Regions from separate parts of the Homo sapiens genome. Here all the other regions are linked to region 1. Evidence: promoter capture Hi-C in 16 types of primary human blood cells and fetal thymus (Javierre and others, 2016). All regions are on one chromosome and are shown on one strand. The core of a region is centred on a gene start or on the middle of the fragment in contact, and the rest is flanking DNA. Distances in the headings are between cores, read along the strand shown. Region 1 holds the start of TECTA (tectorin alpha). Region 2 has its middle 3.7 kb from the start of GRIK4. Region 3 overlaps POU2F3 (POU class 2 homeobox 3). Region 4 overlaps TLCD5 (TLC domain containing 5).

Region 1 (5,080 bases), core at 2,497-4,996:
CTGCAACCTCCACCTCCCAGGTTCAAGCAATTATCCTGCCTCAGCCTCCTGAGAAGCTGGGATTCCAGGCACACCACCACGCCCAGCTAATTTTTGTGTTTTTAGTAGAGATAGGGTTTCACCATGTTGGCCAGGCTGGTCTTGAACTCCTGACCTCAGGTGATCTGCCTGCCTTGACCTCCCACAGTGCTGGGATTACAGGTGTTAGCCACCGTGCCCGGCCCTTGCTCTTTTATATTATTATACAGAGGAAATCATGCTTTCGTTGGCTGCCCAACTGCTTTGCCCCTTGGATACTGTGCTCTATTAAGCATGTCCTTGACTCTTTAAGAATCAGGCCCCTTGGCTGCCCCTCTGATCTTCTTGGTCATTATAAAAATTATGACTGCCCCCCAACATCCCTGGCTTCACACAGTAGAGTGACGTCACCTGGCTTGTATTTCTTCACGGACCCATCATCTCCGTTGCTGTCAGAGCCAAGTTCCGTGATCACCTTTCCTGGCATTAGCCTTGGCTGGCATTAGGGAGCCACTACTGAGCTGCTTAGTGATGCTGGTGCCTCCCTCTCCAGTATATTCCTGCTGGCTTTGGTGGCTGGTGCGTCTGTCCTCTGGCCTTCCATGGAACATGATTGTCCAGTGGGCCTAGCAGAGTCACATAATATATCTATTCCACCATGCAAACATCTGTGAGCCTTTTGGTCCCTTCTTCGGCCATCTGCCATGGTAATTCAGGCATTTGAACCTTGCTCAGTGTGAGCCATCGTTTTTTCCAGGCTTCTAGAAGCTTCAGTAGGAGTGAGTTTGCACCATCCCCTTGTGTTCTTGACACCACGTTGAAGTCTGTAGCTCTAGAGAGTGCCCCTAAGTCAACAAACTCTCTCTTGTTCTATCTTATGTCCCAGCCTCCTTGATAGAGCAGCCTCAGAATCCAGCCCCCTGGGTATGCCCTCCCCTCATCCCTACCAGTGTGTGCTGGTGCTTTGCACCTGCAGCACCTTCGTGGGCACAGTCTCTTTAGACTCCTGTCAGGCCCAGCATGTCTCTGGCTGGGTTATGTGGCAGCTTAGCCCAGATTATAGGCCTGGCATTCAGGAGAGAAGGTGGGAGCAGCTTTTGAAGAGAGCAACTGTTGTCTTGTGGGGGAAAGTCCTGTCTACTGTCTTCCTGTGCTGGGAGAAATTTTAACTCCTGATGGTGTGGAGTAGGATGTGTCTAAAGGATCAGAAGTTTTGAGAAATAAATCTTTGGAGGCATCTACCCAGATAGCCTCCAAATGAGGCTAGGTATATAAAATAGGTATATAAAATACCTGTATGTACATATGTGTGTACATGTGTATATGATAAATCATATGTATAATATATATGTACGTATATATAATAAATTATATATACGTACATATGTATACACACACATATATGTATGTTTTTCCCAGGTAGGCCTTGATATTGGCATAATAGAGCTGCTTCCCTTGAGTGCCTGACCAAGTCCTTGTCATTCAACAGGGCTCTCCAGAGAAAAAACTGCCCATTCGGGGAGTCCTGCTTTGAGTGGAAAGTGATACACTGTGTAGCCTGACCTTGCCCGGTCATTGGCGGAGGGCTGCCCCATGAAGAGTGTGTCCTGGGTTTCAGCACTGGGGCTGAGCCTGAAGGCACTGAGGGCTGGAGGCTGTTGGCCAACTGTGCTTCTCACATCTCTGTTGTACGGGGGTCTAAGTGGCGCATCTCCCAGTCTGCCATAGCCAATAACTGCATCATTTCAAAGTAGCTCCCATCTGACCATCTGTTCCACAGAAAAAGGTATACAAAACCTAAGAAAACAACACAAAAACAAAATAAAACCCATTCTACTTGAGTTTAGAGGACTGTATTTTTTTATTTTGTTTGAGCTGTCTTTCCTCTTGCCTATAAAACAGCATCAACTTCTGCCATTTTTTTTTTATAAAGCACAGTTATCTTGGGTAACTAGCTCCAACCCACCCCCACCGTACCCCACATCTAAATCTTGTCAAAATCTTTGCTCACCTCACACTTTCAACGAAATAAGTCCTCCTGCTGACACAGCATGAAAAGACATTTTTGTCATTTGTCAATCTGTGACCACTGGGTGTACACCAGAACACACACTCACTGACCAGCTTCCCAAAGTGATAAGCCAGCCTGGTGTCTCCCCACGCACCTGGTGTTCCCTTGCAGCCGGATTCTCAAAGGCATTCTAATTCATGTATGCCACCATCTTGTGTATCTGGTTATGCCCAGATGGCATTTATCCGGGCAGCAGTCCTGTCTCAAGAAGGATGGAGCATCCAACATGGGTCAAAAGGGCTGTGATATAAATATCCTAGAATGCATGAAAAAGGAAGAAAGCAATTAGTATGCCACCAGCAGTTAATTAAAACACAGCCAGCGATTTTGCTTCAAGACATTTAGGTTGGCTACTGGACTAAAACCTAAGGCTGGACAAAGAGAATCCTTCTGTAATGAGTCTTTGATTTGAACTTAATTTTATTTTAAATAGGCACCCAAGAAACTAGCTTTTCTGTTATATAAATATACGCCATTCTAAGCACTCCTAGAATCCAAAGAAAAACAAATAAATGTGAGTCATTTGGAAAGAAGCAGTCATTTAACATCTGTAAGTAAATATGTGTGGAGGATTCATAATACCAGTGAGAGAATAAACAATGTGGGAAACCTACTGAATTATCACAGGTTTTTGGAAAAACACGGAGTAATTTAAACTAAAAAAATTTAGCTCGCCAAGCACTCTTGTCCATTTTAAGACAACATGCTTAAACCCAGAATTATATTTCTTTTGTACAGTTGGCATTTAAATGTCTGGTCAGAGAAAATTTGCAGTAATTTTTAAATTCCCATTGATGTGCAGAAGAGTTTTTTTTTCCTGCTACAGTCAAGTTACTTCTTTCTTAATAAATTCCATTTAAACATTTTGAATAGTAGATTTAGCTTATGCCTTAGCCAGTTTTGCTCATTCCACATCTACTGGATGCTTGGAAGCATCTAACCGAGCACGTTTTCCTCTTATTCACATGCCTTTTAAACTATTTACTTACTGCAAATTTTTTATCAGAAGGGGTTTATCTCCCCCCTCTGCCTCCAGTGACCCTCACTGGGTGTTAGGGAAGGTTTCCAGGCCACAGTTTGAGATTTCCCTTGTGGAAGATCGTGTCTAGCGCTAGGTCCCTTGTTAGATTTTGCCTGGAAAGTGCCCTGTCCTATCTCCTGCAGAGCGGTGCATCAGAGAGAAAAGAGAGGGCATAAAACCTAAAAAGTTTGGAAATTTTCTTTAAATACTTCATGCATACCTGTGAAAAAATAGAGTAGAGCCTATCTGTGGCGACTGTTGAAAACCAGAGAAACAAAAAAAGACTTTAATAGAAAACCAACTTCATTTAAATGTTGGAGGCAGCTGCTTTGTTTGGAGTTTTAATCCCATGCTGGTGGATGCTAATTCTGTAACATTATACAGTTGCCTTCTTTTGGGTACAAAGGTAGAAGGGGGGTTTTCTTTTGTGTTTTTCAGTGCAAAGTGATTCTGATCAGAAAGGCCCAAGGTTTCAGCTCCAAGTACCTGACATTTCCATCTGAATCTACTTTTTTTTTCAAAGGGGAAAAAAAAAGGTCTAGTTTTTCAGGAAAAGAACCTCTCTACGCAATCCTGAAACTGATCTTTAGATTTACTTTTCCTTAATCAATAGAAAAAAACTTGATTGCAGCTCAACACTTACCTGTCTCTAGTGCAGGACTAACTTAATTTTTGGTTTTAAGAGTACGAGATTCAGACATTATTTCAGGAATCAGAAATTATTGGCAACAAGTTGAGGAGAACTGACATGAATTCTTGTTTTACCTAATTTTTTCTGGCTTACCAAGATTTGGCTTAATATTTCTGACTCAGTTCCTCCAGCCTCTACAGAACAGGTTAGTGACATTTTTCATAAATACAAATATCTAAATGAATCCTCCTTACTTCTCTCTGAACCGGTTCCCTAAGGGCTCTAGTCTTAAACTTGCACGGCATCTTCTCCATTAAAGCTGTGTGTGATCTCTGCTAAACCTTTGTACCCTTTCCAGCAAAACTGTCTAATATTTAATATGTGCTTGAAATTACAACATATATACTTGACAACTAAAGATTTGCAATAAAACTCTCACAGGATAAATTCATTGCCTTTCCCGTGAAAGTTTGGCTGAAGAATTGTGATAACTTCAAATGATAAGAGGAAGGTTTTTCTTTTTTAAGAATACTGTCAGGAGGAGACTTCATGGTCTAGCCACACGCTTGGGTGATGTCTAACTTGAGCTTGCGTCCGTGTTCTCATCGCAGCTTTGCAGAGTGACACAGACAAAACATGCTCCTGATGGAGGGTAAAGCCACCATGCAACCGATTGTAAACTAACACGAAAACAAGTTTCTCTTTGCTGTGTTCCTTCTTTAATTAACTTGCTGGAACTAATTGGTTGCTTGTGCGCTGGATTCTATTTTTATTGTGATTCCAACTCTGGATTGGTCCTTTTTTATTACTAATGTTTCTATCATTCATTTCACTGTGGGAAGTCAGTGAACAGAGTAGACTGGCCCTGAATCTGGTCAATACTTCAAAATGATGGATCGGCTCCATTCTATGGAGAAGGTGATGGCAGACTCTAAATTCTCCTAGCTGTAGAACACATTGTGTTTTAACCAACTTTTGTTTGATTCTGATGGAAAGCTGTAGTGAAAATTAGGAAATCCAGGTCTCACTGGGGTGTGGTTTCTGCTGCAGAGACACAACCCGGGACCTGCATGCATCTTTAGCGTTGGGTCCTAGTTTTCAGCGCTTTATTTGATGCAGAGGGGATACCTTTCCTTTACGCATACCACTCTCACTGATCCTAAATAATTACTTGACAGTTTGAATGATCTCATTACACTTCCAGACTGGCTTCTTCTGGGCATCTAATTTGTTCATGAAGTGTTGAACTTCGGAGGACCTGCCAGCATTCAGGGGATTTCAGCCCGACTCAGCACTGTTGATGTTGTTATGTGAATTTGTTCTATGACGGTTTTGATGG
Region 2 (4,918 bases), core at 144-2,643, 590 kb before region 1:
TCTGTATTCTTTTTGACAGTAGAAACCATGGCCAGTTTTTCTTTCTGTACCCTATAGTGTCTAATACTATGCTGTACCTGGCAGACAGAAGCTGTACAATAAATTATTGCTCTATTGCATGATGCTGAGTTACACATATGATGAGAGATATATGTATCTATGAAGTACATATATACAGAAATATGTATACACATATAGACATATATGCACATATGTATATGCACACGCTTTTTTGCCTTTGAATGCCTTTATAATATCCCTGTGTTATTTCATAATAATTTATAGGAATATTTAATGCCAGTCTTCAGACAAAACTATACTCTAGATAAATTGCAAACCCCAGACACCTGGGGCAATATGAAAACTGCCACCTTATTTTCGATATCCGGGGGTGGTTTCATTGAGAAGACAGATCCTTTTCTCTGTACCTTCCATTGCTAAGTGATTGTGCTTTGCTCCCAGGTAGAAAATGCCACTCTGTTCCTCCTCCTCCGACCTCTTCCTCCTGTTTGAGTGGATTGTTTCTTCAGTTGCTCTTATTGTTGGAAGTGGTGAAGAAAAACAGTAAAAGGATGGGGGAAAATACTGCGGCTTTAATACTTGCTTAACATTTTACACAGCTTGACTTTCATAGTGATCTTTGACCAGTGTCTTTCATGCAGCCGGAAGCCCTGAGTTTTAGCCCAGTTTTGCTATTTCCTGACTGAGTGGTTTGTATCTATAATGTCATGTAATGGAACCTACCTGGACCAACTATGAAAATCAAATGACGAAAGATGAATGTGAAAGTATAAAGCTTATCACAAGTAAAATCCCGCTTTTAGAGATGTAAGCATAGTACCCCTACTATGGTGGAACTGGTTAAAGCCTTTATTTGTGCAAATGAGCAGCAAGTCCCCTTTCCCAGACAGGCATGGCCATAGTGGAAGACTCCCGGCTACAATGCAGGTCTATGGAAGATTCAGACTGAGAATTCTGAGTGCATACCCAAGCCTCTGTGTGCTAAAGCCCTTGGCTCCAACTCTTGAGTTGCCAAAAGTTGCACGCCCCTTCCCCTGCCTCCATCCAGACTGTCAGACTAAACTATGACCGTGTAACTGAGTTAATTGCAAAATGCCATAAAGAACATACCTGATGTCAAGTGGACCAAAACTGTTAGAAGGAAAATGTAGTGCCTCTATAACATCTTTTACTTGACTACCAACGCTAAAGGGACCAGCCCTGGATTTGTCTGGTTTCCTATTTTGTCTTTGGTGCCTGGCACATAATAGGCACCAAAGATGTCTTGAAGAACTATTGTCACAGCAGCTTATCTCCTCTGCAGAATAGCAAGTGGAAACTGAGACACGTGGTAGAAATGAATTAGGTTCTCACATGAGGGATGGGAGCAGGGCTGCGGAATGAGAGGCAGGTTATATTCTGATTAAGGATGATCTAAATTTTTCTTTTAATTTCAATGCGAGCAGTATTCTTTACACCTAGACTAATAAATGAGACAAGAGACATTGCGGGGAGGGAGCTGTGTAATAATATAGTTGTCAAGTGGGGATGGGACCTTTTAACATTCGATGTAGTATTTGCAGCCAGCTGCGTTAAACAGCATGCTGCCATGAGACTTGGGGACTATGTGAACCACACACACATATATGTTTGCTCTTTGCCAATACTTGCCCATAATATCACTGGGCAAAACCACTGCTTACTGCATCCTTTAAAGCATGAGTAAACATCGAGAACATTTCTCCTTCTAACTCACTTCTGCTTCAAAACTGGTTCTGTGAGACATCTGCTGTAAGAATGAACCATTTATCCTCCAAACAAGTGACAAGAAGAACACAGAATTTATTTTCTTTTAATCTGGAGTTTAAGTACTCCGATAGGACTGATGAATTTTAATAGTCTTGCAATATGATATATAATCAGGCCCTTGCTTCCTTCAACCTAAGTTCCTCAAATGTGAACCCCAGCTTCAACTTAGGTTGTAAAGACTTTAAGCTTACCAAGGGCACAGTTTCATATTTGCCAGTTAGGATTTCATCTGACTCATCTGGACAAATGACAGGAGCAAATCCGATTTGCCAGAACTGTAGACCTCATTAACCCCTTCTCTCTATTGGTTTATCCATTCAACACATTTACTAAGAATCTCCTATGCCAAGCACTGTGTGGTTAATAGATTTTTTTTTTTTTTTTTTTGAGCTGGAGTTTCATTCTTGTTGCCCAGGCTGGAGTGCAATGGCACGATCTCAGCAACCTCTGCCTCCCCAGTTCAAGTGATTCTCCTGCCTCGGCCTCCTGAGTAGCTGGGACTACAGGTCCCATGCCACCACGCCCGGATAAGTTTGTATTTTTAGTAGAGACAGGGTTTCTCCATGTTGGCCAGGCTGGTCTCAAACTCTGACCTCAGGTGATCCACCCGCCTCGGCCTCCCAAAGTGCTGAGATTACAGGTGTGAGCCACTGTGCCCGGCCAGAGATTTTTTAAAAAGCCTATAGTCTAATTATGAACTTGAGATGAACCTTCAAGGGACCTTTGGAAAAGAAATGGTAGGTAAATTTAAGATCAAATATCTGATTTGCGGATATACCTGAGGCAAATACAAAGAAGGGAGAAGCTAAAATATAAATCCAGGAGAACAAGCTCACAGTCTATTAGTGAGAGCAGACGTGAAACAAGTAAGTGACCATAAACTCTAACAAGCACAAGAGAGATCCCGAGAAGGGAGTAATTACTTCTGTTGGGAAGGGACTAGATAGCCAGGTATGATAAACTTCTAGTAGGAGAGGTTCCCAAACAGAATTCTGAGCGGTTAATAGGAACTTGTGTATCAGTGTGTATGTGGGAGGTAGGGTGGGGACTCTGGGCAGAATTCAGTGTGTTAAAGGCACAGAGGTATGAAATGGGATGAGCAGAGAACTCAGTGCTGCTTGGTACTGACTGAAGGTGAGATGGACAGAAATGGATGATGGGTGAGGTGGGGAAGTAAGCAGGGAACTTGTATGCTGTGCTAAGAAGTTTTGGACTCGAGGCTGGGTGCGGTGGTGCACGCCTGTAATCCCAGCACTTTGGGAGGCCGAGGCGGGCAGATCACGAGGTCAAGAGTTGGAGACCAGCCTGGCCAACATGGTGAAACCCCATCTCTACTAAAAATACAAAGGTTAGCCGGGCGTGGTGGCGGGTGCCTGTAGTCCCAGATACTCAGGAGGCTGAGGCAGGAGAATCGCTTGAACCCGGGAGGCAGAGGTTGCAGTGAGCCGAGATTCCGCCACTGTACTCCACTCCAGCCTGGTGACAGAGGAGTGACTCCGTCTTAAAAAAAAAAAAGTTTTGGACTCAATATGAGGTCATGAAGGGGTTTTCAGCAAGGGTGTAAAGTGGTGAAGCTTGTTTTAGAGACATCACTCTGGCAGCCATTTGTAGACATATTGGAGGGAGCCAATTTAAAGGCAGGGAGATGAGCTAGAGGGCCGCTGCAATAGTTTCTAAGACATGGTGACATGATATGATATGTGCCACTCAGCAAGGTGACAACAAGTCACCTGCTCACCGTGTGCCTCAGCTGGCCCCATTTATGCAGAGGGATCATTATGAATGTGTGATGAACCTTCAAAGGGACCTTCGGAAAAGACATGGCAGGTACATTTAAGATCAAATATTCTTCTTAGTGGATATACCAGAGGCAGATAGATGGAAGAAATTAAAGATAAATCCAAGAGAACAAACTCCTTCCTGTGCGCTCCGACCACCATGGCGCCCAAGCACAATGAATCCTATCCGTCCTGCACAGCATAGCAGCTGGCTGTGAGGGATGTTTCAGATGAGAGGTTCTAGAGGTGGGAGCCCCATTTCCCAACCCTTCTGTTTTTTCATTCAAGGCAGCAGCCTCAGAGTAGATCAGCGGGGCCAGCCTCGTGGCCCTCTGACATTCTCCCCCTGTGGCTTCCAAAAAAGATCTGGACTGACCTTCCCACCCCTGGAGCTGAGCTTGAGAAGTCAGCTTGCCTGGAATTGAATTTTTTCAGTAGTAAAAAAGGTGGAGAGCAAGTAGTAAGTATCCCAAAGAACTCAACATCTTGCAGCAAGGGGAGACAGGAGAGTGGGTGGGGGCAACCAGGCTGAGGCTAACAGCAGACTTCTGTACCGGCAGACTTCGCTGACATTGTTGTCCACCCTGTGACTGGTAGGGACTCCCTGCTTCTAGGGGCAGAGGCCTTAAGAAAGGAAAAGAAAGTCAGAACCATTCTTGCAAGAAGGGGAGAAACCAGGGCCCTCAGGAGGCCACAGCCAAGACTATCTCCAGAGCCATCAGCAATCTCTCTGACCTGCCAAAAGCTCCTCCCCGCTTCCCTGGTTAATAGGATGAGATCACCAGGCAAAAGAATATGATGAAGCATTTCACTTATATAGTATTTTTCTTTCCAAACACTTAATAAGCCTCTCTGGTCTCGCTGATCTTGCATTCTTCCCGTGAAAGGGGCCAGGGATCCATGCTTGGCATTTCAGAGTTTGCGCGGCTTGAGAGATCATCTAGTCTGCTTCCCTCACTTTTAGAGTTATGGGAACTGAAGTCCAGGGAAGTGAAATCGCTTGCTGGGATCACAGGGATGCCTCTCCCTCCTCCCAGCCCCGTACACTTTCTGCTAGGCTTATGCTGCTGTTCCGTCCATTTTGCACAAGAGAGGGGGTTCCAGAGTGGGGGAATAGAGTTGGAATTAGAAATTAGTTTTGTGTCACTGGCTTACAGGTGCTCTTAAACCTTAACAGGTTTAACATCCTCTGTAAAATGGGACTAGTGTCACCTCAACACCTACCTTGCAAAGTTGATTATTGGGAATCACACTTGTGTAAGCGGTATAGTCTTGGCAAACAGTAGGTGCTAAATAATGTCTGGCTGGAGGAATGGAGCCCTGTTCGCATA
Region 3 (4,515 bases), core at 1,368-3,867, 780 kb before region 1:
GCCAAGATGGGTGGATCACCTGAGGTTAGGAGTTCGAGACCAGCCTGGCCGACGTGGCAAAACCCTGTCTCTACTAAAAATACAAAAATTAGCTGGGCATGGTGGCAGGTGCCTGTAATCCCAGCTACTCGGGAGATTGAGACAAAAGAATCGCTTGAACCCAGGAGGCAGAGGTTGCAGTGAACCGTGATCGTGCCATTGCACTCCAGCCTGGGTGACAGAGCGAGACTCCATCTCAAACCAACAACAACAACAACAACAACACATGTCTTGGGTGTGACAGCAGGGAGGGAGGAGAAGAGGTAGGGAGATTATTGATAACATCTCTTACCACTCTGCCACCCCTCCCAACCTGTGCCCGTCTCCACCCTTCACAGGCCCCCAGCCTACTGAGGAGGCTCATTGTATAAGGAAAAGTAAATGAAAACAGGAAAACCATTTCTGATTAATGACGAAATAAGTACATGCTGCATCCTGTTAGGGTGGGATCTTCCAAACTGGGGAGAGCAGAACTACCTTTCAATAGCCTTTGCGAACACCTGGTCAGAGCTTCCCCTGTTAGCATGAGAAGAATAAGGGGCAGTGAAAATACACAGATTTTAGCTCAAAAGAAGAGTCGAATAACATCTAGAAATATACAGCAGTTGACAGCTGCTTCTTCCAGAAAGGGAGAGAACTAGCATTTAACAAGCTGACACTCTTTGCCAGCTGTTGGGTTGGAAGCTTTACAGACATTATCTCATTATGACTTAATTAAAATATATAATGGAAGTATTGCTGCTATTTTACAGATGAGAAAACCAAATCTCAGTAGGGTTAGATAACTTGCCCAAAGTCACACAGATAGTGGTGGAGCTGTCTTACTCCCAGACCTGTTGGGCTCCAAAGTCTATTCTTTCTATTACATCTTGTTCTACATTGTTCTAGGATAGTAACAGTGAGGGGGAGGTTCCTGAATTGCATGGGAGGGTAAACAAAGTTATCCCAGGTCCCTTTCTAATCTCAGAGCTGATGATGCTATGAGGTCTCCAGGGCAAAATAAAAAGCTTCAGAGACCAAAGTTCAGTGCCTCCAGTCACCTCTGGAGAGTCCATGCTCCATTCATCCATCACAGTGGGAAAGCCTGCGAGAGGCTGCTAGGCTGAGCAACCCTGCTGTCCTCAGCAAAAGCAGGGTTCTTTTAGGGAAAAAGCAATGGAGACCAGAAAATGACAGGCAACCAGCAGTATCTGCCACAGCAGGGCCCAAGAGGCTTGTCTTGCTCACCTCCAGGGCTCTCAGGCAAGGCAGCCTTCGGCTTGGCAGTGTCAAAGAAACCTTATCAGGCAATACACATTGTCAGGGGCTGGAGGGCCCTGGTGTTGACACCAGGGAACTTCCGGGGCAGACTGGACCTGGTTCTGGATGCCAGTATGTGGTCCAGAGGCCTTCCCATAGAAAGGAGGATGGCATGTAGGCTAGGAAATCACCAAGGAAGCCAAGCCCTGGTCTCTGTAGAGTCTGGGGCCTACTGTCTTTGGAGAGTGATCTGAAGTTGGAGAAGGGAGCAGAAATGGACATTTACAAGCTTCTGTTGTTTTTCAGGTATCTCCCTCAGGGTCTCTGGGCCCCCTCTCTGTCCCTCCTGTCCACAGTACCATGCCTGGAACAGGTGAGCTTTAAAATGAGATTTCTGAAGAACACCAGAATTCTTTTAAAAAATGGGATATTAGAACTGAAAGGTATCTACCTAAGTCAGGCTTCCCTAAATGCATTTCAAAGGATATTAAAATCTGTGTTGGGAAAAAAGGGTTCTGTGATCAAATAAGTCTGGAAAATGCTGAGGAAGCCCAGTTTAAACAAGCGAATTGTTTTGTTTTGTTTTGCTTTAACTGCAGCACTTCTAAGCACTTAGGTGCATAAAATTCCAAAATGAACTGTGTGGAAGGCCCAGGGGAGGCAAGGCTTCCCAAAGTAATACTCTAGTCCTCAAAAAGCACCTAATTATTTCAACGCACTAGACAGGATGATCGCATGCCCAAGGGTGGCCAGGACAGTCCCAGTGTCTGCTTCATGTCCTGACATAATTATCAATAGCACTTCCTTCCACTTTTTTTTTTTTTTTTTTTTTTTTGAGACAGAGTTTCACCCTTGTTGCCCAGGCTGCAGTGCAATGGCACGATCTCAGCTCACCACACCCTCTGCCTCCCAGGTTCAAGCAATTCTTCTGCCACAGCCTCCCGAGTAACTGGGATTACAGGCGTGTGCCACCACGCTCGGCTGATTTTTTGTATTTTTAGTAGAGACAGGGTTTCTCCATGTTGGTCAGGCTGGTCTTGAACTCCTGACCTCAAGTGATCTGCCCGCCTCGGCCTCCCAAAGTGCTGGGATTACAGGCGTGAGCCACCGCACTCAGCCCCTTCCACTTTTCAAAGTGTCTTAGGGTCTTAGTTTGGATGGTAAAATATATGTCACCCTATCCATAGAACACAGTTTGGGAAACACAAACACAAGAGTTAATCCAAATACAAATCTGCCATTTCACAGAGGATGAAAATAAGTTTCAGGAAAGTGAAACAAATCAGCACAGGCCACAGAGCTGCTGAGTTGATGGCTGGGGACCAAGACAGGGCTCAGGTCCCCTCACTCCCAGTTCATTGTTCTTTTTGTTTTTGTTTTGTTTTGTTTTTTGAGACAGCGTCTTGCTCTGTTGCCCAGGCAATGTGGTGACACAATCATGGCTAACTGCAGCCTCGACCTCCCAGGCTCAAGTGATCCTCCCACCTCAGCCTCCTGAGTAGCTGAGACTACAGGTGCATGTCATCACACCTGGCTAATTTTTGTATTTTTTGCAGAGACTGGGTTTCGCCATGTTGCCCAGGTTGATCTTGAATTCCTGGGCTTAATCGGCCCTCCTGCCTCAGCCTCCCAAAAGTGTTGGGCTACAGGCATGAGCCACCATGCCCAGTTCAGTTCATTACTCTAGTTTCTAGAAAACCAAGCACCTTTTCTTTGTGGAGACTGGAGAACTAGAGCAGCTGGCAATCTTTCATCGTGCCCTCAAGTTCTCTTTCTCCCCTATGCACTTGCCTTTCTTTCCTCCTCTCTTCCTTCTTGTTCTTTTTCTCCTACCGCCTCTTGGTCTGGGGCTGCATGTGCCCAGCCTAGGGTGTGTCCTAGAGTAGGATGATTTTGGCATCTGTCCTTGGATTTGGCAAGTCTTAGACTTGCAGAACCAGCCACACCACTCTCCAGGGCCTGGGCTGCAGAGAGCATTTGTGACGACAGCCCCTCTGGGTGTGGGCAGAAGTTGATGCTAATGAGGCAGGAGGTAGTCAGGTGGGTGTGGCTAGGGAGAGGGTGAGGTCCCTTTGGGGATACACCAGGAAATTTGTGTCTGAGGGGCTATGTCCCGATGTCCCGGGATCCAGCAGCATTATTTCCCCCTTGTTTTTGCCTCTCCTTATCCTCAGTAACGTCATCCTGTTCCCCTGGGAACAACAGCAGGCCTTCATCTCCTGGCTCAGGACTCCACGCCAGCAGCCCCACTGCATCTCAAAATAACTCCAAAGCAGCAGTGAACTCCGCCTCCAGTTTTAACTCTTCAGGGTAAGGTGAAGGGGACGGTGCAGAGACATCCCAGCAGGGCCAAGGGACATGTGAGAAGCTGAGCCTATGCCTTGGGAAAGAAAGCTTGTCATAGAAAGGGTTGGAAAAGAGGAATGGGGTGGCACAGAGAGGACAGAGTGACAGCCAGACTGGACTTTATCCCTAGGGAGTGGAGATTTTAAAAAGAAGCTTCAGTCAGTGAGCCATCCTGGCAAGGAGCTGATGTCAACAAAGTCAAAATTTCCATCCTTACTTTGAGGGTGGAAATTTCCAAACACTCATGTCAGAAAGAGCCAGGTCCTTTGCTGGGCTTCATGGGAACCCAGTTCTCAGGAGGTTCTGATGTGAGCCCAGAGCTTAGGCACAAAGAAAACCCTGGGCTTCAAACATGGCTGACACAGGGAAAGGGGGAAGTGGTGCCAATTCCTGTCTCCCACTCCCAGCTGGGATGCAGTGGGGCAGGCAGCCTCCTGGGCTTCAGTTCATGAAGCAAAGAATCTACTCTAAAAAGTATTCTCAGAGCTGATGCCTTGTGAAAGAGAGATTCTGCCCTGATTCAGAACAACACAGAGATGTGTAGGTTACAGACCTGAGTTCGTCAGAAAAGATGAACCCAGCTGTCCAAATCCAGGCGGTTCAGCAAGGCAGCCAGTTCTTATTGGCCAATTGTTGCATAGCCCGAAACGTTGGCGCTCCTCACCTACCCCTACTGAGAGAGAGAAAGAGGACCATATAATATACATTACCAGCTTTAAAAAATTGTTTCGAGGTATAATTCATATACCATAAAATTCACCGTTTTAAAGTGTGCAGTTCAGTGGTTTTTAGTATATTCACAAGGTTGTGCAACCATCAGCGTTATCTAATTCCAGGATGTTTTTATTACTCCTACCTGCAAAAGCCCCTGTACCTGCTAGCAGTCACTCC
Region 4 (4,562 bases), core at 29-2,528, 770 kb before region 1:
ATTCCCCTAGCAGTGATTTGTTACGACATGTGAATGAGTTGTCTACTGGACAAGGTCACTACAGACTCAGTGCCCAAAGTTTTTACTGAGGACAGGTCATCTAGGCAGGCTTTCCCTGGCAGATAGCAAAATTCAAGACTCTCAAAAGGAAAGCAGGTGTTCAGCATAAGCCATATTGTTTGCACAAGCAGTTCAGACACAGTAAGCCAGTCTTATCAGTTAATTGTGGGAGCCCCTCCAAAATCTAAGTTCCCAAATGCCGGCCAGTGGCCAACCCTGTAATCAGGCCTCTCCAAGGATAGCAGTTTAGGCCTGCTATGTTAACTCTTTTCTGCACAAAACCTATAGAGTTAGGGCTTTGGATCTGAGATGAATGAAGTGTGGGTAGATTTACTGAGTCCTGTTATATGGGTTCTGCCCTACCAGGAAAACTATGCCAGTTCTCAGGGCTTTTGTGCATTAATCTCCTAGGCATTTGAGGCTATGACTAAATTCCATAGGGATTTATCATGTGGATTCCACTGTGCTTGAGATGGCAGTTTAGATTTCAGCTCTGCTGTACATATTGCAAACTAGAGCCAAAGACTTTAAAGTGTGTACTGGCCTCAGGGGGATGAGGTTAATTTTTTTTTTTCATTTTAGATACTTTCCCTTTTAGTACTCCTCCTACTTTTCTTATTTTTACTAAAAAGGTACCACTCTATGAACAAACTAATAAAACAAGGCCAGTCTTGGAAGGAAAAAAATAATAATTCTTAGTGTGACAGTCTCCAAGAGAAGCAAGAATATAAGCTTAGAACAAGGGGTTAAGAATCCAGAATTCCTGGGTTCTTTTAACTAATTTTGCTACTCACTTGCCACTTTGGAGAGCTACTCACTCACTTTGGATAGGTTACTTGTTTCTTCTTTGCCTGAGTTTAAACCTATTGTGAATGAATGAAATACCCTGTAGTATATTTCATAAATACATTATGTGGCATTTTATTAATGGAGGTCTTTAATGTAGGGCTTTTATGGAAATATGAAGTATTTATGTATTTATTGATTATTTATTTTTACCATGTTATTGAAGTCAATGGTGTTTGATTAGCTCAGTGGGTGAGCAAGCATATGGTGCTACTGGAGTCAAGGCTGGTCAGTAGGAAGCATCAGTCCATTCCATGGCCACTGGTAATCTAACGTAATGAATGGTGTCTTTTGTTGTTGTTGTTGTTGTTGTTGTTGTTTGAGACAGAGTCTTGCTCTGTCGCCCAGGCTGGAGTGCAGTGGTGTGATCTCAACTCACTGCAACCTCCGCCTTCTGTGTTCAAGTGATTCTCCTGCCTCAGCCTCCCGAGTAGCTGGGACTACAGGCGTGTGCCACCATGCCTGGCTACTTTTTGTATTTTTAGTAGAGACGGGGTTTCACCATGTTGGCCAGGCTGGTCTTGAACTCCTGACTTCATGACCCACCCGCCTCGGCCTCCCAAAGTGCTGGGATTACAGGTGTGAGCCACCGTGCCCAGCCATGAGCGGTCTTGAAAATGAAAAATGGTCTTGGCCACAGAAACCAGGTATGAGGGAGTGGTTGGAATGGTATAAAGTCATCACTGTTAGGGAAACAGTAACTTTAAATGCATGTTAACAGTGGGTCTTTAAAAATGAATGTCATTTGGTTAAAGAGTTTTGCTGGGCATTGAGATAATCTGACAGCATCTCCACTTCCTGTTTTTTTTCTTAATCTCCACTTTTTTTTTTTCTATGATGAGCGCCCCTAAAATGCTGGTAAGCTTCTTTCCAACAAAATTGCGGTCAAAGTAGGATGCTGGGGAATGCTGATTTTAGCAAAAGCTTGTAGAAAAGAGTGGCCTGGCACATGAGCTTAAAAAAAAGAAAAAAAGCTGGCTCTTGAATTTTGGCACAGTGCAACCTGTTCCATACCAGACAAATGAACAGGCTTAATCTGGTACCAATTCTTTTTCTCTCTTACTCCTCAGAAGTGAAGGGACTGCAGATCTTGTTGTTTTGGGGACACTTTCATGGAACTGTATGTAGGTTTTTTTGAATGGTGAGAAATCTGAATAATTGGTAAGGGGAAGGGAATCCCTCATTTCAGCTTTTCTTGATGTTGTTACTAATAACTATGAAAAAACTTCTGAGAGAACAATGTGAACTGAAGATGACTCAGCAGTTAAGACAATGCTAAGTTCTGAAACCACAGGTAAATGAAGGGCTAATTAATGTGTGGTATACTTGGACAAAATGAAGTACTCATTTGCACTGGATTACTGTGTAATGATAACGAACACTGTTCAAGAACGATTTATATTTCCATAAGATTTGTACTAAATTTTATAAAAGTAAAACAACTTTTTATAAACCCAGAGTCTGTCTTTATATTTATGTGGTGGTTTTGCCAAGAAGTTAAAAAAAGCCTTTTGACCTGTAGAAATGTTGACCTGTATTCATACTTACTAGTGAATATCTCTAATCTGCTGTTCATTATCCATCATTCCCCCTATTTTTTTTTATTTTGGGGGGTAACAGTTGACATACACAAAACAGTTTGCCAAAAGAGAGAGGAAGAACCTTAATGTGTTTCTTGTTCTGCCACCTGTTTGGACACTTGTCTTGAAAATGTTGATGTCAAGTGAGTTGACATCAGAGACATCATCTGAAGACAGCTGGAGGCCCTGTCTTGAGGACTGTACTACCAATGCCTAAAACAGTCTGGGATGCATAGTAGATACTTAGTAAGCATGTTGAAAGAATGGACAAGAGGATGAGAATGTGGTTTAGAATCATCCCCATTGGAAAACCTCCTCAAAGGTTTTCCCAGTGGATTGGGTCATCAATGTCATTTTTCTAAGTAAAGTACTACGGACCCTGAGGAGTGTGTTCTACCCAGACTGGCTTGACTTTCTGAAGGCATCCTATAGTTACAGCCTTTAGAACAGTTGAGCTATCGGCAGCTTTAAAGAGGCTTTCAGTTTTTTTTTTTTTTAAATCATTAATGCTTTGTAGGTGACTATAGAGATTTTCATCATTTAAAAAAATTAGTTCTGGAATGAATAACCACTGGCTTAATTCAATCTTTTGCTTACCATCTTCTGAAGCTTTCCCACAGCAAAATGCCTTCTTTGCTCACAGCTAGAACCGTGGGTCTGTTTAAGTTTGGAAAGATCTTGAAAGCAGCTTGCCAAGAGGTTTTGTATGCAAGGAAGAGAAGGTGAATTAGGAAACTTTCCCAGTTTGTTTTATTCCTGAAGCTTAAGTATTGAGGCTTCCCTCAAGTATTAAGGGAAGAGAGGAACTCCAAAATGCATGATTTGATGAGTCATTGGGTTCAATTAATTTTATACTTACACTGTAACATTATTAGGATAGGGGAAAATAAGATATTTAGTACTTTTAAGAAAGATTTATTAAGTTTGGGGATAAGGTTTGCATTTTGGTCAGTATATATATGTATATATGTGTGTATATATATGTGTATATATATGTATATATATGTGTATATATGTATATATGTGTGTATATGTGTATATGTGTGTGTGTGTGTATATATATATATATATATATATATATATATATATATATGAATGGGATTCCTTCCGGTTGCATGTAAACACTCAATTTAAGAGTCTTCAGGGTAGAATTGTCATGCTAGAATACACCAGCAGGTGGCAATGTGTCCTGGTCTCATCATTAGGGAAGTGCCTTGGCTAATCTGCTTCTATTCTTTCCAAAAATAAACATTACAAAATTAGTTGGCTGTGCCTTGAACCTAAAAAATCGAGCAATAAAGAGTCGTCTCTGGTCTCTGTTTATCTTTTCCTTTTTTTCCCCCCCGTTCTAACTAACGTCAGCGTGAGCTCATGCCTCTATTCGGGGATAATGATCCTTTCATGAACTGTTGCGGAATGACTTTTTGCAACAGCATTGTTAAGAGGTAATTGTTTCCTCTCTCCACATCCACTGTTTATTAGATTTGATTTGCTACTTGGATTCCACAAAATGGCTGAAATCCCTTGTCACCAACATAGGTTTAAGCTCAAAAGTCTGAAAATAGTTGGATAAAGGGAATAGCCACTTTGGATGTTTGCAGGCAGAACTGAAGAACTGTATTACATGTGGTACCTAAATTGCCAAAATACTGAATTATTCAATCATAAAACTAGATGGGTATCTAAAGCTCTCTACCCAGTAGGGGAAAAAACCGAAAAACCGTTTGGGAATCCTTCAGAGAGAACCGTAATGCTATTTACTGGATAAATATACTTCATTTTCTTCTCCCAGTTCTTTCCACAACACGCTTGTTAAGTCGCCATGGAAAGCACCATGCTTTATCAATTTGGCAAATAACACATTTCATTTTGCCAAGGCAGAAACAGCCTAAAAGTAATATTTATACCGAGAAACCCTGGCTGCAGTCCCCAGCTGCTCTCCCGCAGCCCTGCGCCTCCGGCTCATGCAGCGCTCTCCCCCCGGAGCCGGCAGGTGCCCAGGTGAGCGGGGCCTGCGGAGGCAGCGAGGGGCGCCGGCCGGGAACCGGCAGAACGCGTGCAGCCAGAAGACAGGAG

The links. Contacts are between HindIII fragments. The CHiCAGO score rates a contact against its expected background, and 5 or more counts as called.
Region 2: a fragment that was not itself captured here is called in contact with the fragment with the promoter of TECTA in region 1 in 7 of 17 cell types (M1 macrophages, naive CD4 T cells, monocytes and 4 more); the score reaches 6.5 in M1 macrophages.
Region 3: a contact is called between a fragment that was not itself captured here and the fragment with the promoter of TECTA in region 1, in 1 of 17 cell types (naive CD4 T cells). The highest score is 5.1, in naive CD4 T cells.
Region 4: a fragment that was not itself captured here is called in contact with the fragment with the promoter of TECTA in region 1 in 1 of 17 cell types (naive CD4 T cells); the score reaches 6.2 in naive CD4 T cells.

The regions. Positions count from the first base shown.
Region 1 is chr11:121,097,497-121,102,576 of GRCh38, forward strand. TECTA (tectorin alpha) reads left to right here and starts at 3,747. Exons shown (of 24, transcript NM_005422.4): 1 at 3,747-3,946. All of the region lies in intron 7 of TBCEL-TECTA (TBCEL-TECTA readthrough), which reads left to right. The HindIII fragment of the contact is 15,442 bases long and covers 785-5,080 here.
Region 2 is chr11:120,505,558-120,510,475 of GRCh38, forward strand. No RefSeq gene overlaps it. Among named protein-coding and RNA genes, the nearest start is that of GRIK4, 3.7 kb to the right of the region's middle. The HindIII fragment of the contact is 1,199 bases long and covers 795-1,993 here.
Region 3 is chr11:120,313,777-120,318,291 of GRCh38, forward strand. It overlaps POU2F3 (POU class 2 homeobox 3), which reads left to right. Exons shown (of 13, transcript NM_014352.4): 11 at 1,585-1,651; 12 at 3,453-3,588. Among named protein-coding and RNA genes, the nearest start is that of TLCD5, 9.3 kb to the right of the region's middle. RefSeq lists an enhancer at 35-179 and a cis regulatory region at 107. The HindIII fragment of the contact is 2,105 bases long and covers 1,566-3,670 here.
Region 4 is chr11:120,331,324-120,335,885 of GRCh38, forward strand. TLCD5 (TLC domain containing 5) reads left to right here. Exons shown (of 3, transcript NM_001198671.2): 3 at 1-2,363. Among named protein-coding and RNA genes, the nearest start is that of ARHGEF12, 2.8 kb to the right of the region's middle. The HindIII fragment of the contact is 977 bases long and covers 791-1,767 here.